3 separate regions of the Homo sapiens genome follow, and regions 1 and 2 are each linked to region 3. The links are contacts of gene promoters, found by promoter capture Hi-C in human tissues and cell types (Jung and others, 2019). All regions are on one chromosome and are shown on one strand. The core of a region is centred on a gene start or on the middle of the fragment in contact, and the rest is flanking DNA. Distances in the headings are between cores, read along the strand shown. Region 1 overlaps KDM5A (lysine demethylase 5A). Region 2 overlaps ERC1 (ELKS/RAB6-interacting/CAST family member 1). Region 3 holds the start of WNK1 (WNK lysine deficient protein kinase 1).

Evidence for each region. Contacts are between HindIII fragments. The study calls those that stand out against the background at their distance.
Region 1: a fragment that was not itself captured here is called in contact with the fragment with the promoter of WNK1 in region 3 in 1 of the 25 tissues and cell types used here (dorsolateral prefrontal cortex).
Region 2: a contact is called between a fragment that was not itself captured here and the fragment with the promoter of WNK1 in region 3, in 1 of the 25 tissues and cell types used here (mesenchymal stem cells).

The regions. Positions count from the first base shown.
Region 1 is chr12:341,883-344,582 of GRCh38, reverse strand. All of the region lies in intron 10 of KDM5A (lysine demethylase 5A), which reads left to right. Among named protein-coding and RNA genes, the nearest start is that of KDM5A, 46 kb to the left of the region's middle. The HindIII fragment of the contact is 4,192 bases long and covers 1-2,700 here.
Region 2 is chr12:1,113,761-1,116,460 of GRCh38, reverse strand. It overlaps ERC1 (ELKS/RAB6-interacting/CAST family member 1), which reads right to left. Exons shown (of 19, transcript NM_178040.4): 7 at 428-595. It overlaps LOC124902857 (a long non-coding RNA gene), which reads left to right. Exons shown (of 3, transcript XR_007063157.1): 3 at 962-1,047. Among named protein-coding and RNA genes, the nearest start is that of ERC1, 120 kb to the right of the region's middle. RefSeq lists an enhancer at 1-1,061. The HindIII fragment of the contact is 4,498 bases long and covers 1-2,700 here.
Region 3 is chr12:751,211-753,915 of GRCh38, reverse strand. WNK1 (WNK lysine deficient protein kinase 1) reads right to left here and starts at 1,337. Exons shown (of 28, transcript NM_018979.4): 1 at 1-1,337. The coding sequence starts at 350. RefSeq lists enhancers at 1-605, 606-1,324, 2,082-2,131, 2,182-2,281 and silencers at 442-821, 832-1,211, 1,292-1,441. The HindIII fragment of the contact is 16,449 bases long and covers 1-2,705 here.

The DNA of each region.
Region 1 (2,700 bases), core at 90-2,589, 410 kb after region 3:
TAGGGTTTCTGCCGAGAGATCCGCTGTTAGTCTGATGGGCTTCCCTTTGTGGGTAACTTGACCTTTCTCTCTGGCTGCCCTTAACACTTTTTCCTTCATTTCAGCGTTGGTGAATCTGACAATTATGTGTCTTGGGTTTGCTCTTCTCAAGGAGTATTTTTGTGGTGTTCTCTGTATTTCCTGAATTTGAATGTTGGCCTGCCTTGCTAGGTTGGGGAAGTTCTCCTGGATAATATCCTGAAGAGTGTTTTCCAACTGGGTTTCATCCTCCCCATCACTTTAAGGTACACCAATCAAATGTAGATTTGGTCTTTTCACATAGTCCCATATTTATTGGAGGCTTTGTTTGTTTCTTCTTACTCTTTTTTCTCTAACCTTGTCCTCTCACTTTATTTCATTAATTTGATCTTCAATCACTGATACCCTTTCTTCCACTTGATCAAATTGGCTATTGAAGCTTGTGCATGTGTAATGAAGTTCTCGTCCCATGGTTTTCAGCTCCATCAGGTCATTTAAGGTCTTCTCTACACTGTTTATTCTAGTTAGCGATTTGTCTAATCTTTTTTCAAGGTTTTTAGCTTCCTTGCGATGGGTTTGAACATCCTCCTTTAGCTCGGAGAAGTTTGTTTTTACTGACCTTCTGAACCCTACTTCTGTCAACTCATCAGTCATTCTCCATCCAGCTTTGTTCCATTGCTGGCAAGGAGCTGCCATCCTTTGGAGGAGAAGAGGCACTCTGATTTTTAGAATTTTCAGCTTTTCTGCTCTGGTTTCTCCCCATCTTTGTGGTTTTATCTACCTTTGGTCTTTGATGTTGGTGATCTACAGATGGGGTTTTGGTATAGATGACCTTTTTGTTGATGTTGATACTATTCCTTTCTGTTTGTTAGTTTTCCTTCTAACAGTCAGGACCCTCAGCTGCAGATCTGTTGGAGTTTGTTGGAGGTCCATTCCAGACCCTGTTTGCCTGGGTATCACCAGTGGAGGCTGCAGAACAGCAAATATTGCTGCTTGATGCTTCCTGTGGAAGCTTCGTCCCAGAGTGGCAGCTGTCTATATGAAGTGTCTGTTGGCCCCTACTAGGGGTGTCTCCCAGTTAGGCTACATGAGGGTCAGGGACCTACTCGAGGAGGCAGTCTGTCCATTCTCAGAGGTGAAATGCCGTGCTCTCTTCAGAGCTGTCAGACAGGGATGTTTAAGTCTGCAGAAGTTGTCTGCTGCCTTTTGTTCAGCCATGCCCTGCCCAGAGAGGTGGAGTCTAGAGGCAGTAGGCCTTGTTGAGCTGCCGTGGGCTCCACCCAGTTTGAGCTTCCAGGGTGCTTTTTCTACCTACTCAAGCCTCAGCAATGGTGGACGCCCCTCCCCCAGCCAGGCTGCTGCCTCAGCAGATTGATCTCAGACTGCTGCGCTAGCAGTGAGCAAGGCTCTGTGGGTGTGGGACCTGCGGAGCCAGGCATGGGAGAGAATCACCTTGTCTGCCAGTTGCTAAGACCTTGGGAAAATTGCAGTATTTGGGCGGGAGTGCCTCGTTTTTCCAGGTAGTCTGTCATGGCTTCCCTTGGCTAGGAAAGGGAAATCCTCTGACCCCTTGTTCTTCCAGGGTGAGGTGATGCACGCCCTGCTTCAGCTAGCCCTCTGTGGGCTGCACCCACTGTCCAAGCAGTCCCAGTGAATGATCCAGGTATCTCAGTTGGAAATGCAGAAATCACCCGTCTTCTGCGTTGAGCACGCTGGAAGCTGTAGGCCGGAGCTGTTCCTATTTGGCCATCTTGGAACGCCCCTCCCCAGGTTTTTTTTTTTTTTTTTTTAAATCACATTTTAGGCCAGGCACGGTGGCCCATGCCTGTAATTCGAGCCCTTTGGGAGGCCGAGGCAGGTGAATCACTTGAGGTCAGTAGTTAGAGACCAGGCTGGCCAACATGGTGAAACCCTGTCTCTACTAAAAAAATACAAAAATTAGCTGGGCGTGGTGGCGCTTGCCTGTAATCCCAGCTACTCTGGAGGCTGAGGCAGGAGAATCACTTGAACGTGGGAGGCGGAGGTTGCAGTGAGCCGAGATCATGCCACTGCACTCCAGCCTGGGCGACAGAGCAAGACTCTGTCTCCAAGAGGAAAAAAAAAACACATTTTATTGGTAGGTCCAGAAATAAGTTTCCTTCAACACCTGAGTGGGTAGATTGTCAAATATGTGTTTAAAGTGTAACATATACATACAGTTCTATCACGTAGGAGATGACCTGTATTTGTAAAGCTGAATTGAGATGGTAATTCATTTCTTTTCTCTTTACTTTGATTCTTGACACTTTTTCTTTCCCCCTATAATTGGCAATAATTTATCTCCTGTTAAAAGAGTTGCACATGATAAAGTTGCATAGTACAGAGGATATATAAATAAAAGTATAGCCCCTGTAGCTTTATTATGGTTACTGTTTGCTTGGTGTATCTTTTTCCATTCTTTTATTTTGAAGCTGTTTGTGTCTCAGAATCTGAAGTGTGTCTCTTGTAGATAGCATATAATTGGATCTTGCTTTTTTTCCTAAGCTGACAGTTGCTTTTTGATTGTTTAGTCTGTTTACGTTTAATGTAATTATTGCTATGGTTGATTTATGTCTCCCATTTTGCTGTTTTCTGTGTCCCATGTCTTTTTTTCCCCCCATTTCTCTCTCTCTCTTTTTTTTTTTTTGGAGACAGAGTCTTGCC
Region 2 (2,700 bases), core at 138-2,637, 360 kb before region 3:
TATACAGTTATTCATAATATCACAACTTAAAGACACTTAAATGTACTCCAAACACAGTGTAACCAAGCTCATTGTCATTCATGACTAGAAAATTCACCAGGGGTTGAACTGAAGCTTCTAAATCAATGATTTCTCTTTTACAATTATCCTTTTATTTTTAATACTGTCAGAGTATACTTTGAAGTACAGACTTGGCAAAAGTTTAAAGAATTAAAAACATAAACTGCACCTGTTTTAACTTGTTAGATCTAAGAACAACTGAAATAAGATGGTTACATTTTAGCACAGTGACTGATCACGCTGCTGAAGAATTAATCATAACATTACTCATATTTCCCAATTCTAAACATAACAAAAACAGCACAGGTAACGCTTATGAAAAGGTGCCAAGAAACCAACTCCCCACAAATCCCAGAATTGTTTCTACCTCAGTCTGCAGGATGGCAGCCCTCTGCTCCTTAGCAGTCAAGGACTCCTTCAACACTTCAATGTGCTGTTTACTATCTGAGAACTGGTTTGTGAGTGTTTCTAGCTTTGTCTGCAGGGCGAGTAGTTCTGTGTCCTTTCTGGACAGCTCCTGTTTCACCTGGCCAATCTAGAAAAGAAGTAAAACACTTTAAGGAAAAAAGAAATAAAACAAACACCTCTTATCTGTATCTTTCACAGATCTGAGTCACAAAATATGAAACTAAATGCAGCACGAACTGTGTGATAGGTCATATTCATCTTTTTGCATGACATAACCTTGGATCTCCCCAACCCTGAGCCAAAAAAAACCACTAAACTTATTCAACCAATAGGGAAATGTCCAGTTTTCATTTATTGTGTCTTCTAAATATTCTTTGAAACCTCTTAGAAAGGGAATGGAGGGAAAGGAAATTCCAATTCAATTAGATGACTATGAGACAGCAGTAAGCAACTGAACACCACTGTACTGATGAAATGGTTTTCATTTTTCTAGGTGAGACCTCTTCAGAACATGATGGATCAAATGCAGGATGAGTGCAGATATAACAAAAAAGGTTTTAGAAACCTCCTAGTACTATTTAAAATTCAAAATCTGCTGCTGTTGTGCTAATTTTTCACTGTTATCTTTTTCATTCTCAAAAGTTTGCATAAAATTCTTATCTTAAAAAGCCACTTTTAATGTTATACATAACATGGTTTTGTAAAATCCTATAATTTGATGTTATGTGTATTGATTAATTTCTCTCTTAACATTGAAAGTATTTTCTTTCTAACACCTTCTTTACATTCCTGTTTTCTAAGAATTTTAAAAATAGTTTTTTACCCTAAATGGAAGCCATGTAAACAGAAATTACATCTCCTTTTAAATTATGTCTACCACCTAACAAGGAACTAAAAAAGATACTAATTATTGGAAGTATACATTTGACAAGTCAGTAATTTCGGTGTCACTGATGAAACAAAAAGTTATCTTTTCATTTTCAAAAACTTGAATGTATCTAAAGTATTGTAATTGTAATAATCTTAGGTATAAGGGATAAAGCTTTTGAGAACAATTTCCCATGAAGAAATAAATTTCACATTAATTAAAATTAGACCTTTGAGGAACACCAAAAATAAATTTCCAATTTAGCCTTCTGTTTCAAAAAAGATTAAGTATTTTTCTCATATGCATAAAATCTCTTTTTAGAGATATAGTTATTCATTCATTCAACAAATATTTCTGTATGCTTATTGTATACAAAGTACCTGAGGATACTAAAAACATCAGTGGAAGATAATTTTAAACGGTGGCTATATTCATCCTGCAAAATAGTATGTACCCAAGAGTTAGCACACACTGTAACAACGTGGAGTCTTTTATGATATCCCTTCACCAATAAAAACAACCCATTAACACTATTCCATTCCCTAACACACTGATTGTAACAAAAACACATTTGTTGTATGAATGAATATTTTGGGGGATGTTCAAAGTGTTACCATTTTCTCAGCTAAAGAACTATGACTAAGATTATTCAAATTTCCAGCTACCTCCAATCACGTGGTCAAAAATAAATATAAAAATCTGTTTCGTCATCATCTGCATTATTAAGTAAGCTTCAAATAATGCTATATTGACCTTAAAGACTAAGAAAGAAAAGAAAATATTTTAAATGAAAAGCAGGGTTTAGGCCGGGTGCAGTGGCTCACGCCTGTAATCATTGCACTTTGGAAGGCCGAGGCGGGTGGATCACAAGGTCAGGAGATCAAGACCATCCTGGCCAACATAGTGAAACCCATCTCTACTAAAAATACAAAAATCAGCTGGGCATGGTGGCGCATGCCTGTAATCCCAGCTACTCAGGAGGCTGAGGCAGGAGAATCGCTTGAACCAGGGAGTCAGAGGTTGCAGTGAGCCGAGATCTCGCCACTGCACTCCAGCCTGGCGACAGAGAAAGACTCTGTCTCAAAAAAATAAAGAAAAAGAAAAAAAGAAAAGAAAAGCAGAGTTTAGAAGCACAAATTTTCCTTAAAGACTGAGAAGGGAAGACATTATAAAGGGGAAGCAAATATAATACAAAGCTTAGGAGCACAAGGCTTTGCAGACATTCACCTATCAGAACTAAGCTAGCTATGTGTCCCTGAATAATTACTTTCCTAATCAGTTTCCTAATTAGTAATAAGGAGAAATTATACGAATGCCACTGTACTGTTTATGGATTCAGTAAAATAAAGCGTGAAATGTGCTTA
Region 3 (2,705 bases), core at 88-2,587:
GGTGGAGCACTCTGCGGGACAGCCGCGGGGATGCTGGGCTGGGGCAGGGAAAGAGGAAGGCCGGGAAGCTCCAGTGCAGTGGCATTGGAGTCACAGATGACGCTCCGGCGGAAGAAGCGGTGCTCAGTGGTGGTAGTGGTCGCGGCCGCCCCACGGCTGTCCTTGTCCATAGTGTGGCGGCGGCGCCTGTACTCCTCGGTCCTGCCGGTCACAGCGTCGGCGGCCGCGGCTCCCAGTTTCTCCCCCACGGAGGAATCGGAGCTGGAGCCATTCTTGGGGGCAGGAGCCGGCGGCGAGAGGAACAGGGAACCGGGAGTGCTGCTCTGCTTCTCTGCGGCGCCGCCAGACATGGTCGGTTCGCTGGAGAGAGGCGAGCGGGCTCGGATTCGTGAACGAAAAGGGCGTGAAGGGCCGAGCCGCCCGCGCAGAGGTCTGCAGGGAACCGCGGCCGGGCGGGTTCGCGCCGACCCGGACGACGCCTCACTCAGCACCGACAAGCCGCAACGAGGGACAGGCGGACCGCTGGGCCCAGCTGCGGCGGGGGCTGGCACCGAGGCTGCTGCGGCTCACGAGGAGGGCTCGAAGGCGGGCGATTCGGGAGCTGAGCCACGGGGGTTAGCGCCGCACGGTCCGCATCCATCCTGCGGCGAGCGGCGGCCGGGCGGGCGGTGGCAGCAGAGGCGCCGCAGTCATGAGGGGAGGGCCAGGGGCCGGCACCGAGTCGAGGCGGATGCGGCGGACGCGGCTCCCACTGCCGCCGCTCGCCGAGCTGGGCGGGCTAGGCCCAGAGGGCGGCGGCACCGCGAGCACGGGACCAGGTCCGACGCCCGGGCGGTGGCGGCCCCGGGGCAGAGGAGTGGGAGGGGCCGAGGCGGGCGAGGGAAGGCCGCGGCCCGGCTCCCGGTCACTCGGGCGGCCGCCTCCTCCCACACGCGCCCCCAGCGATGGGGACCGGCCTCACAGGTCGCCCATCGCCCAGAGGCGAAGGGCCGGAGCCTCGGAGCCTCGGCGCCTGAGGAGCGGGCCCCCCCTTCCCCGAGGCCTCCCCGCCCGCCCCAGGCCTGGCAAACCCGTCTCCTCCCGGGCCGGTGCCGGGGGCTGACGGAGGAGGGAACGGCGGGGAGGGGAGGGCCGCTCACCGCGGGGCCCGAGCTCCGCTGCTTCTCTGAGGCAAGAGGAGAGGAGACCTAGAGGACTGGGTGAGGGGGAACAGGGAGAGAAAAGAGCAGCCACCCCCACCAGGCGCCTTCTGTCACCGAAGATGGGGGTGCGGAGTGGCCGAGAGAGGAGCCGCGTCCACCCGGGAAACTCTCCGCGCTAAATGGCGCCGGGAGTCTGAAGCCTCCACACAGCCCGCTCGGATCCCGCCCCCCGCCGCCCGGAGCAGCCCCACCCCCCAACTCGCTCCGGGGCTTTTGCGCAGGCGTGCTAGCCCCGAGGCACCCTGGGACTTATAGTTTACGGGTTGGCGGGGATGAACGGGACCTAGAAGAAAAGTGCCTACGACTTCCGTGATGCCTTGCGGTTGCTGTAGCCTAATGCCTCGTGGGAGTTGTAGTTTTCTTTGGAAACCGTCCCTTCTGAAAGGCTGATGGGAGCGTCATCACGGGTCGCTCAACCCCATCCCGAAGTCCGCGCGAGCTTAGGAAAATCATTATTTAGGGATTAATTGTGGAAGAAGGAAAGGAAGGAAAAAAAAAAAAAAAAGAAGAGGAACGAGCGGGCGGGGGGTGGGGGGGGGGATGGAAAGACTCCCATCATGCTCTGCTAAGCTAGAGAGCTCTTAGGGTTGCCATGCAATGAAAAATGATCTGTTGTTCATCTTTAATGGAGAGAGCCTCAGTAGTGTTGAGTGACTGCAGGGCTGTGAGGGTGGAAGGGAAGGGCAAAGCAGGATAACCGGAGCCTGAGCTCTGAGTCGGAGGAGGGGAAAAGAAACTTTGTGAAGATTGTGCATGAAATTAATATTGATTAAACGGATTGGAGGAGGAGACACGGAGGATTACCTTCCATCCTCCTCCCCTCATCAATTAAGGCCACATTCTCAGCTCCCGGCCGAGACGGATATTCTGGCTCTCAAAAAAGGGCTGCCTTACTGAAATCGGGGATCCTAGTGAACTCTATCTTTGCTTTGTCTGAAAAATAATAAAAGGGGGGTTGGGGGAGCGGTGGATTCAAGAAAAGATAAGGTCTACGGATCTATGGGTCTTTGACCACACTTGGGGGGCTGGGCTGACTTCTGCCTTTGTAGTTGGTTGAAACTTATTTTCCACCTTTCTTCTGCTGGTGGCTTCGTGAAACAACACCCCCTCTTTCTCTAGAGCTCCTGAATGTCCACATGCAATGTCTACAAAGGCTCTGGGCCCGGGAAATGTGGATCCATGCGGCTTGCCGCCATGGAATGTTTTTCTTGAAAGCATCCTTGTCTGCCTGGACCCCTGTGCTCTTCGCAACTACTCAAGATGTGGAGGGGACGAGCACCAGGGGGCACCAGACCGAGTAGGAAGCCGGACTCGGGAGCAGACTGCAGTTTAAAAGCCTCAGTCCAACCGGTGGAGAGCGGGAAGCGCTGAAAACGTACGCAACCGCATCAGAGCGTCCGGACGCGGCCGCCTCTCTTCAGCGCCCGCTGCGGAACAAGCTCGAAAGCGCGCGTCGGGGCCGAGGACCACGCTGCGAGCGAGCAGCTAGCAAGGAACTCGGCA